Linked DNA regions of Homo sapiens: regions 2 and 3 are each linked to region 1. Evidence: promoter capture Hi-C in 16 types of primary human blood cells and fetal thymus (Javierre and others, 2016). All regions are on one chromosome and are shown on one strand. The core of a region is centred on a gene start or on the middle of the fragment in contact, and the rest is flanking DNA. Distances in the headings are between cores, read along the strand shown.

Region 1 (3,588 bases), core at 430-2,929:
AAAATATATCCTGCCTGACAGCTTCTAACTCTACACCTAATCTTAAGAGGTAAATAGTTAACTCATTGAGATGAAAGCAGATACCCCAAGACATGCCATCAGTTTACAGGAAAACAGCCTACGATAACCTATTCATGATTATTTAAAGGGAAATTTTTGAAATTTGAACCATGTAACTTTGATTCTCGTCATAAAACTGGAGACACATATAACAGGAAAACCCCTCAAGATATAATCAAATCACTCAAGAATGCAACAAGCTTTTAAAATTTACATATCTCAAAAGGCAAAAAAGACAATATGAAATTCCAATGTTTGAAATAAGTTTAAAAATTATATAAATTTTAATGCCTAGAGTTTATGCTTTGCACAATAATTTAAGAGTCTAAAGGGAAAATAGTATTGGTCTAATAAAACAGATCACAAACCCGTCAATTGAACAAACTGAAAGTCCCTTGATTTCACTCACACACTTTGCTGAAGTATCCACCTAAAAACCAAATACTGCTCTTTGGTCTCCTACCACCTGGTACTTTGTGGCAGCTGTTGGCTTGTAAAAAATAAATAAAACAAGTTAGTTTAGCAAATATTGACTGCAAGCTTCTTCTATACTTCATCCTAAAATGGAAAAGACATGTTCCTGCCCTCTTGGAGTTTGCTTTCTAGTACATCAGAAGTGAGCAGATGAACCTGACCTATAGGGAACAAAATTAAAAACAGTGGCATCGATGGAAAAATAGAGCAATAAATTAAAACACAAATAACAGGTAAGAAGCATTGAAAAATACCCTTGAAAAAGCTTAAAGGCCTGTAAGAGTGGTATTTGGTGAAAGTTTGTTGAATCTATTTCCTGATTTGTAAATGTTGTGTAAAAATGAGCATCTCATTTTGGCTCAGTTCACAATCATTTTTCTTCCCTAAGGGTATTTTCCATGAGCTTCTAGAAATCCTAAATGTTTTTTCAAGCAACCAATAAACTTACCCATTGAAACTGCACAGATTTGAAATGGAGATATTAATCCACTGACAAGTGAATAAAATGTAAGATTGCTGTAGGTTCATTTCTATACTATAAACCTTCCTCGTAGGAGAATGAAATTTCAAACCACATGGATTCCAAAACCACTTAAACTTGCCATTCCCACAATGGTTAGTTGTACTTGCCGAATCACAAGGTAAACAGAAATCTATGAGCCATTTAAGATGATCTTGAGCCAGGTAGGACTGGTCAGAGCCTTGGGAACCCATCTGAAACTATTCCACCTGGTCCGCCTGAAAGTAGATTGGGATGGAGTCAGGGGTCTCACATTCCTGAGAAACAAGCCCATCTAATTCCGCACATTTTATAGCTGGTAAGTATCAAGCTGTCTGAAAATGACCGCTAAAACATGAACCAGAAAAACATAAATAAATCAGGGAACAAAATGTCTGTGCATTATTCCTGGCTATTAAAATTGGTTTTAGAGAAAACAAGAAAAATATTTGCTGTAAAACTGAGCTCTATTTCCCTGTTTATGTGTGTGTGTGGGTGTGTGTGTGTGTATAAGTTAAAACTTAAGTGACTTCACAAATCACCTTTTTGACAGGCATTGGAATACCTCTTGTCTTTTTTTTTCCCTACTTTTAGGTGCCTCGGGGAGAATGTTTTCTACATAAACTGGCTCTAACTTTCAGGTGTGTCTTCACATGCCCCGTTTGCTGCCTGAACCTCTCCACAAAGACTCCCAGATCCTGGTAAGTCTTGCCTGCTCTCTCACTAGCAAATTGGCATTTTTATGGATTAAATGAAGGTATTAGAATTTAGGGGGTAAGTGGAGTTGTCATAAAGTAAGAAATGGGACATATTAGCACATAGATTACTATTACTTTTACAGAATGATAGTCCAATGACACTTAAATAAAGGTTCTTGCAACATAAAACAGTATCCAATGGGAAAATTGATGTTAGTGCATTGTGATATGAAGCCAACAACTTGAGCCTTACTGTACCTTGAAGGGAGCTTCAAATGATGTAGTGTTGAAATGTACAACTGTATTGTGTTTTCAGCAAATGTTTGTTTTTGTTATGGTTATAAAACTTATGACAACTTATAAAAGTTTAAATGCATTAGAACTACCCATATTTTCAAAATATTTTGTTAATGTTCTAGATATGTGTAAATATTGTTTTAAGAAAAGCAAGTCTGCTATAACTAAAAGAAACATAAACTTGGCCGGGCATGGTGGCTCATGCCTGTAATCCCAGCCCTCTGGGAGGCCGAGGCAGGCAAATTGCTTGAGCTCAGGAGGTCAAGACCAGCCTGAGCAACATGGCGAAACCCCATCTCTGTAAAAACTATACAGCCGTAGTGGCACATGCCTGTAATCCCAGCTACTCAGGAGGTTGAGATGGAAGGACTGCTTAAGCATGGGAGGTTGAGGTTGCAGTGAACCAAGAATGTGCCACTGTACTACAGCCTGGGTGACAGAGGAAGACTCTGTCTCCAAAAAAAAAAAAAAAGTAAACTTTATAGTTCTGTATTCTGCATTCCTCACTATGATGAAATTTAGGCAAAACAGTTGAAATATCTAATGAGTCCTGACATAACATGAAAAAAAGTTAGACAAAGGAAAGTTAAATACAAGATTTCTGAGAACTGTCACTTTATAGACAATTATTTGTGTACCAGAAAAAGTCTTAAGGGCTAATATAAATGTATTTATAATTATCTTCTGTGTTATAAATTACTGTCCAATTTGCAGAAGAAAGGTGCTGTAGTAGAAACAGGAGCGGAATGCATGTCTTTCCTGCGGAGAGGCTCTTATCAAACACGATGCACCTGTGGTTCTAGGAGCTGGGCAAATGGGCACCACATGGCCCTTTTCTCTTCATCTGTTTCATCCAAATTGTTTTGACAAAAAAGAGTAAACTCTTTGCAGCCTTCAAGTGAGAGCAGATGAGGCAAATATAAGTGAATGGTCAGTAAATTAAATAAATTAGCAATGCCAGAAAGTTACTTTCAGTCTAATATATTTCACTGTTTATTGCAACACTTAATACATTTTAAGACCAGTGTCATCTAGCAGCATTCATTAAACGGCTACCAAAATGCACCCAGCGCCTTTGGAAATACGTTTATACATATCTCATCCAAAGGAGGGAAAATGTTTTGTTTATTACTCCTAATCACTTTTACATATATTACTAAAACTCACTGATGAATTTAACAAGAAAAGAGTGCCATGTAGCCCCTGAGAGGCTTTCCAATGTCAGCTCTGGTAAACCAACCCGAAAAGCAGTACCAATTAAACTTATAGTTTGACGAAGGAAGGCATGCACAGGGTTACCACATTTTCTGATATTGCGCTGTATGTGCAGCTGTGGGTTTTATAATGACTGGATAGGTGATTTCAGATAACAGAACTTCTAGAAGTTGCCAGATTCATTATAATACTTATCTAGTTTGGAGCTTAGCTCTCCTAAAATGGGAAATAGAAAATGGGGAGGAAGACTAGAGGTGAGTGATTTTGGGAAATAAGGGCTGAGATGATAAGGCCCATAGCTAAGGGCACTGAAGCCACTGAGAAAGTTTCTCAAGCTCAGCGCTG
Region 2 (3,322 bases), core at 478-2,977, 340 kb before region 1:
TCAAGCACATTACATTTATTGTGTACTTTATTTCTAGTATTATTACATTGTAATATATAATAAGTATACAGCTCACCATAATGTAGAATTGGGAGCCCTGAGCTTGTTTTCCTCCAACTAGATGGTCTTATCTAGGGATGATGGGAGACAGTGACAGATCATCAGGCATTAGATTCACCTAAGGAGCACGCAACCTAGATCCCTTGCATGCTCAGTTCACAATAGGGTTTGCAGTCTTATGAGAATCTCATGCCACCACTGATCTGACAGGAGGTGGAGCTGAGGCAGTAATGCAAGCGATGGAGAGTGGCTGTATATACAGATGAAGCTTTGCTTACTGGCCCTGCCACTCACCCCCTGCTGTGCAGCCCATGGGTTGGGGACCCCTGACCTAGAATATCTGACACAATTTTGAAAAAGAAAAAAAAGTTGGAGGACTTACATCTGCTGATTTAAAGACTATAAAACTACATTAAGCAAGGAACTGTGGTGTTTGAATAAAGATAGACATATAAATCAATGGTATGTAATAGAGAGTCCAGAAATTGATTTATACATGTAAACTCAAAAGACTTTTTACAAAGATGCTAAGGTAACTCAGTGGGAAAGGACAGTCTTTTCAACAAATGGTCCGGGACTATTAGATACCTGTATCCACAGCGTTGACCTTGACCCTTTGCACCATACACAAAAGTAACTTGGAATGCATCACAGTCGTTCATGGCTAATATGCAGAAATACAACTGATTTTTCTTATTGACCTTATATAACTTCAAACTTGCTAAACTCACTTATTCTAGTAGCTTTCTATAGCTTTCTCAAAATTGTCAACATAGGCAACCAGGTTGTCTATAGAGTTTTACTTCCTTTTTAATCTACATGCCCTTCATTTCCTTTTAATGCTTTACGGCACTGAAAAGGACCCTCCAGTACAATGCTTACTGGAAGGTGTGAGACTAGACATCTTACCCTGTTCCTGATCTTAGATGGAAACCTGAATCTAAGAGCTGAAACTATAAAACATATAGAAGAATATGCTGGAGAAAATCTTAATGACCTTGGGTAAAGATTTTTTTAGATAGGACATAGAAAATATGAATCAGAAAGGAAAGAAAGAGATAAATTAGACTTCAAATTACAAATTCTGCTCTTTAAAAGGTACTTTTTATAAAATGAAAAGGCAAGTCATACACTAAAATATTGATAAAACATGCATCTGACCCATCATGAGGTATAATATATAATCAAGTTCAAAATATATAGAGAATTCTCATATAACATATGTATGTATATATATATAAAATAATAGGCTGGGTATGGTGGTTCACACCTGTAATCCCAGCACTTTGGGTGGATCGGTTGAGCCCAGAAGTTTGAGACCAGCCTGGTCAATATAGTGAGATCCCATCTCTACAGAAAAATAAAAAACTATCTGGGCATGGTGGCACACACCTGTAGTCCCAGCTACTTGGGAGGCTGAGGCAGGAGGATCACTTGAGCCCAGGAGTTCGAGGTTGCGGTGAGCCATGATTGCACCACTGTCATATATATAGGACACAGCAATTCAGTGAAAAAACTGGGCAAAAGATTTAAACAGACACTTCATTAAAGAAGATATACAAATGACTAATAAGTACATGAAAACCTTCTCAACATAATTAGTCATTAGGGAAATAAAAATTAAACCACAAGATACCACTACCTCTATAATGCAAAACTTAAGACTTGACATACTAACTTTGGGCAAAGATGTAGAGCAGTGAGAACTCTAATATATTAGTGGTTGGAATACAAAAATGGAAGACAGTGTGGCAGGTTTTTTTTAAAATAAGCATACCCTTTACCATATGAACCAGCAATTTTATTCCTAGGTTTTTGCCCAAGGGAAATGCAATCATATGCACATGAAGACTTATGTGTAAATGTTTATAATCGGGTTATTTCTAGTAGCTAAAAACTGAAGAGAGCCAGACCAGAACTGCAGAGAACAAATTGTGTTGTATCTATACAATGGAACACCATTTAGCAATGAAAAGAAAGGAACTATTGATATATGCTACAACATGGATGAATCTCAAAAGTATTTTGTCCATAAAAGAAGGTAGATACTTTTGATTCTGTTTGTATGAAATTCTAGGAAAGGGAAAGTGGGCACCAACTATAAAGAGGCTTAAAGGAACTTTTTACAGTGATGGAAATGGCTATGTCATGATTATTGTTGTGCTTACACAAGTGTATACATTTGTCAAAACTTGTCAAACTATACAGTTAAAATTGGTGAGTTGCACTGGATGTAAATGATATGTCAATGAAGTTGATCCCAAAAAAAAGGAAAGTTGGAAAGGGCATTTCAGCAGTGGTGAACAGTATGACCAAAAGCACAGAGAGAATAGAAGAAGTATACTAATTTCACAGAATAATGTATTTTGGAAGATGAATTTTATCTTATAGTTTTACCCATTATTATGGATTACTTCTACTGTCAGTTTGAATAATGAAATTAGTGAATCTTTGTAATGTGCCTAAAAAGAAGTTAATTTTAAATAAAGACAAATTAACAGTTCATTGCTCACTTTATCCCCTCTTTTCTTATCCCCTTATCCTTTTCTTTTTTGCTTTAACAGAAGTCCATATAATGCTTGATGGCCTGTTACCTCCTGACACCTATTTTAGATTCAATCCTGTAATGTGTGAAAACATACCTCTAGATGAAAGTCGAAATGAAAAGCTGGATCAGCTGCAGTTGGAAGGGTTGAAATACATAGAAAGAAATGAACAAAAAATGAAAAAAGTTGCAAAAATATTAAGTCAAGAAAAAACAACTCTGCAGAAAATTAATGATTGGATAAAATTAAAAACTGATATGTATGAAGGACTTCCATTCTTTTCAAAATTGTGATGAGTATATGCTTATGTTCTCATAAATGAAGGTCTGTTTAGAAGATCAACCACATTCAATAAGGAATTGTGGGGTTCGACATGAGTTAACTTTGAAATACGTATGAATTCTGGAGAATCCTGAAAAAGACGGTGCTTCAACCAGCTTGCATAGCACAGAGAATATTCTTGGTTACAGAATTCATATGGGAACTAGGCTTTTAAGATGTTAATAATTAGCTAAGCTTTAGTAACCCTTACTGTGCTAGTAGATTTTAGTAGATATTGGTGTTATATTGTTTGATGTTTGAAAATATATTAATATATGTGCCGAACAAGAAACCGAAAGCTATATTGTACTGTGTATTTTTACTTTAGTCCTCATAATCATGTTGAATTTATGTGATCATTGATTTTATTTCATATGGAAAAGCTAATTTCTTCT
Region 3 (3,605 bases), core at 25-2,524, 360 kb before region 1:
CAAGCCCCAGTGCATAAGCACTTATCAAGCCTCAGTTTAATGGCATGTTTGTTGAGGTCACATGGACGAAAGCCATGCCAACCAAGAGTCTGTATAGGAAGAGACTGTATACAATGACATGGATACCAGGACTGTGATTCACTGGGTGCCAGTATTGTTAATATTCTTCTATATCTACCTTCTGGCCTTTTTTGTCGTAGCATTTTTTCGCCCATTGTTTATTGAGAGGACTTTTATTTATTTATTTATTTTGCTGTGATAATTTTGTGTTATTTTAAGGGAACTATTTTATGCCATCAGTAGAATCTAGGCATGTTGATTTTTTTTTCATATTTTGACATCTCGGAAATAAACAATTACCATTGCTTTTTTTACAAGTTTATATTCATAAGTGAATTCACTAAAAGCATTTTAGGTTTTGAGAAAACCAAGATTTAAACAAATATAAAAATAAATAAATATGAACTTTGCCAAAAAGTGTGAAATCAGCATGCTCCTAGGATTTCTCTTGTAATTTTACAGTAAGAATTCTGTGAAAAGACAAAGAACCTTAAAAAGATAAAATGCATTGATCTTTATGTAGTAGAAATGTATAGATCAGGTTGGGAAAGACAAAAGATCTTGTCCATTTTGGAAAGTATTTTACATTGATATTTATTAAAGCTTATAAAGGGTAGATCACTGAGCAGTTTGTAAATATTCTTTTTATGAAGTTCACTAATATTCTAGTTGGGAAACATGAGTATTGTTTGAAAAACACATTAGAAAATGGTTTTACTCATGAGGAAGGCTGGTGAAACCATAGTCTTTGTATTCAATATAGGGAAAATACATAATTTTTAAGTCTGGAAAAGTCTGCATTGAAATAAAATTCTCTTATTATGGAATTGCAAAAATTGCTGCCCAAGGACAATTTCTGTAATGTCATAGTAATTCAAATGCCAACTCTGATGATTTTCAAAGCCATTTTCTTGATGACATTGGCTGTTACCAACTAAAACAAGCTTAAAGTCTCATTGTCCTCACCTGGTTACTCTAACTAGCCCGTGCATACTTCTGCAGTCTTATCTCAACACAGCTCCTTTATCCTATTGGCAGGACCCTGAAAACAACAGATTTATTTTGCCTTTGTGCCTTTAATCTGTATATGTCCTAGCTTTAAATATGTTGCCTTGCAGTCTTTCAATGTCTTCCTCCAGCAACCTTCCTGCATCTTTTCCAGTTACTGCCCCTCTGTTCGTTGCTCCACCTCAGAACTGTAGATACTTGCAGTTTGAATCAGAGGTTGATAAATAACTGCATATTGTTTCATGTGCATTAATGGAATTATAAGCCTCCTAGAGGAGAGTCTTACATGTTTTCCTTCATAGCACTTTGACAAAGCCATGGACAAATAGTAATTGCATACTGTATGTTTCCTGGTTGTTAGGAGATAAAGTCATTTTGATATAACTTATTTTTTTCTCCTTTAATAAAGGGATAGGATGGGATCTGCACTGATGATTGAAACAGCAAGAAACCCCACATGTCCTAAGGTAAGCTTAGAGTCTCTTAAATATAACACCTAGTTCCATCTGAAGGTCTGGTGAAAGCACTTGTCCTGAGGGCCATTTTATTTTATTTTATTTTTATTTTTTGAGACAGAGTTTCACTCTTATTGCCCAGGCTGGAGTGCAATAGCACGATCTCGGCTCACCATAACCTCCGTCTCCCAGGTTCAAGTGATTCTCCTGCCTCAGCCTCCCAAGTAGCTGGGATTACAGGCATGCACCACCACGCCTGGCTAATTTTTTTGTATTTTTAGTAGAGACAGGGTTTCTTCATGTTGGTCAGGCTGGTCTCAAACTCCCAAACTCAGGTGATCTGCCCGCCTTGGCCTCCCAAAGTGCTGGGATTACAGGCATGAGCCATCGTGCCCGGCCCTGAGGGCCCTTTTATTAAGGTATTACAGATTGTATTAATTCTTTATATATTGAGTCATTCTATGAAGAGATGGGATATCATCCTTATACCTTTTATAAATTCGGTAAAACTATACCAGAAATGGAAGAACATGAAAGATGGACTGAAAATAAGAATTATTTCATCATAATTTTAAAAATCAAATCTAGTGATTTAAGGAACATTATGACATTTTTTACCCTAGTTTTTTTTTTTTTTTGAGACGGAGTCTTGCTCTGTCGCCCAGGCTGGAGTGCAGTGGCACAATCTCGGCTCACTGCAAGCTCCGCCTCCCGGGCTCACGCCATTCTCCTGCCTCAGCCTCCCAAGTAGCTGGGACTATAGGCAGCCGCCACCACGCCCGGCTAATTTTTTGTATTTTTTAGTAGAGACAGGGTTTCACCATGTTAGCCAGGATAGTCTCGATCTCCTGACCTCGTGATTCGCCCACCTCAGCCTCCCAAAGTGCTGGGATTACGGGCGTGAGCCACCGCGCCCAGCCTTCTTACCCTAGATTTTTAAAGAGAAATTTTATATGCCTCTTAGATACAATACAATCATGCATCACTTAATGATAGGGATACATTCTGAGAAGTGTGTCATTAGATTATTTTGTCATTGTGCAAGTATTATAGAGTGTACTTAGACATACTTAGATGGTATAGCCTACTACACATGTAGGCTAAATGGTATAGCCTATAGTTCCTAGGCTATAAACCTGTGTTATAGAGTGTACTTAGACATACTTAGATGGTATAGCCTACTACACATGTAGGCTAAATGGTATAGCCTATAGTTCCTAGGCTATAAACCTGTACAGCAGGTGACTATACTGAATACTGTAGGCAATTGTGACACAATGATAAGAATACTTACGTATCTACAGATATACAAATATCTAGATAAAAAATATCTATAGAAAGATACAGTGAAAAATACAGCATAGAAGCCCGTTTATAGTCTTATGGGACCACTGTTGTATATGCGGTCCATCATTGACCAAAACATTGATATGCAATGCATGACTATATTAGATTATATTATTATAAAAATTGAATCCCCATTAAAATTGTAATGTCACTTAGATGTGTCTCAATGTGGCTCTTCATTTATTTGTGTGTTTGAAACCCAATGATCTGAGTGTTGCTTGAGTTCTGTTTAATATTACTTGTTTAAAGAATAGAATTTATGTGCCTAGAAATTTCATGCAGCTTGTATTTATTCTCAGATAACGAACTGTAACCATGAAAAATCAAACAAGTGCAGCTCTTTCTGTTGCTCTTAACTATGGCATACTCATACTTTGATTCATTCTGCAAGTATTAATTATACACCCACTGCTAGGCACTTTGGATTCATTTGTGGGCAAATGCAGACATGGGGTTCACAGCTCTGTAGGGCAACATAGGTATTAATGAAATAATCACACAGATGACATGTAGTAGTTTCCCTGAAATACATAAGTGCTATGGAGCATAAAAGCAGTTCTTTGAAAGCATATTTTTAAAGAGACATGAGGGCCAGCTAATTTAAGGAAGTGAGATTTGAGATGTCAATGTGAAGGCCATTGAGTAGCAGCATTCCTGGCAAAGGGAATGGCCTGTGCAGGAAGAGTTATAGAGAATTCCAGGAAATGATAGAGTTCTTAAAGATTAGTGCCTCGG

Evidence for each region. The method cuts DNA at HindIII sites, captures the fragments that hold promoters and counts their contacts. A CHiCAGO score of 5 or more calls a contact.
Region 2: a contact is called between a fragment that was not itself captured here and the fragment with the promoter of LAMB4 in region 1, in 3 of 17 cell types (endothelial precursors, naive B cells and fetal thymus). The highest score is 7.6, in endothelial precursors.
Region 3: a fragment that was not itself captured here is called in contact with the fragment with the promoter of LAMB4 in region 1 in 6 of 17 cell types (endothelial precursors, M2 macrophages, total B cells and 3 more); the score reaches 9.1 in endothelial precursors.

The regions. Positions count from the first base shown.
Region 1 is chr7:108,128,452-108,132,039 of GRCh38, reverse strand. LAMB4 (laminin subunit beta 4) reads left to right here and starts at 1,679. Exons shown (of 34, transcript NM_007356.3): 1 at 1,679-1,734. The HindIII fragment of the contact is 5,422 bases long and covers 802-3,588 here.
Region 2 is chr7:108,471,978-108,475,299 of GRCh38, reverse strand. PNPLA8 (patatin like domain 8, phospholipase A2) reads left to right here. Exons shown (of 11, transcript NM_001256007.3): 11 at 2,625-3,322. The coding sequence ends at 2,899. Among named protein-coding and RNA genes, the nearest start is that of NRCAM, 17 kb to the right of the region's middle. The HindIII fragment of the contact is 2,794 bases long and covers 331-3,124 here.
Region 3 is chr7:108,489,340-108,492,944 of GRCh38, reverse strand. PNPLA8 (patatin like domain 8, phospholipase A2) reads left to right here. Exons shown (of 11, transcript NM_001256007.3): 8 at 1,478-1,535. Among named protein-coding and RNA genes, the nearest start is that of NRCAM, 35 kb to the right of the region's middle. The HindIII fragment of the contact is 536 bases long and covers 1,007-1,542 here.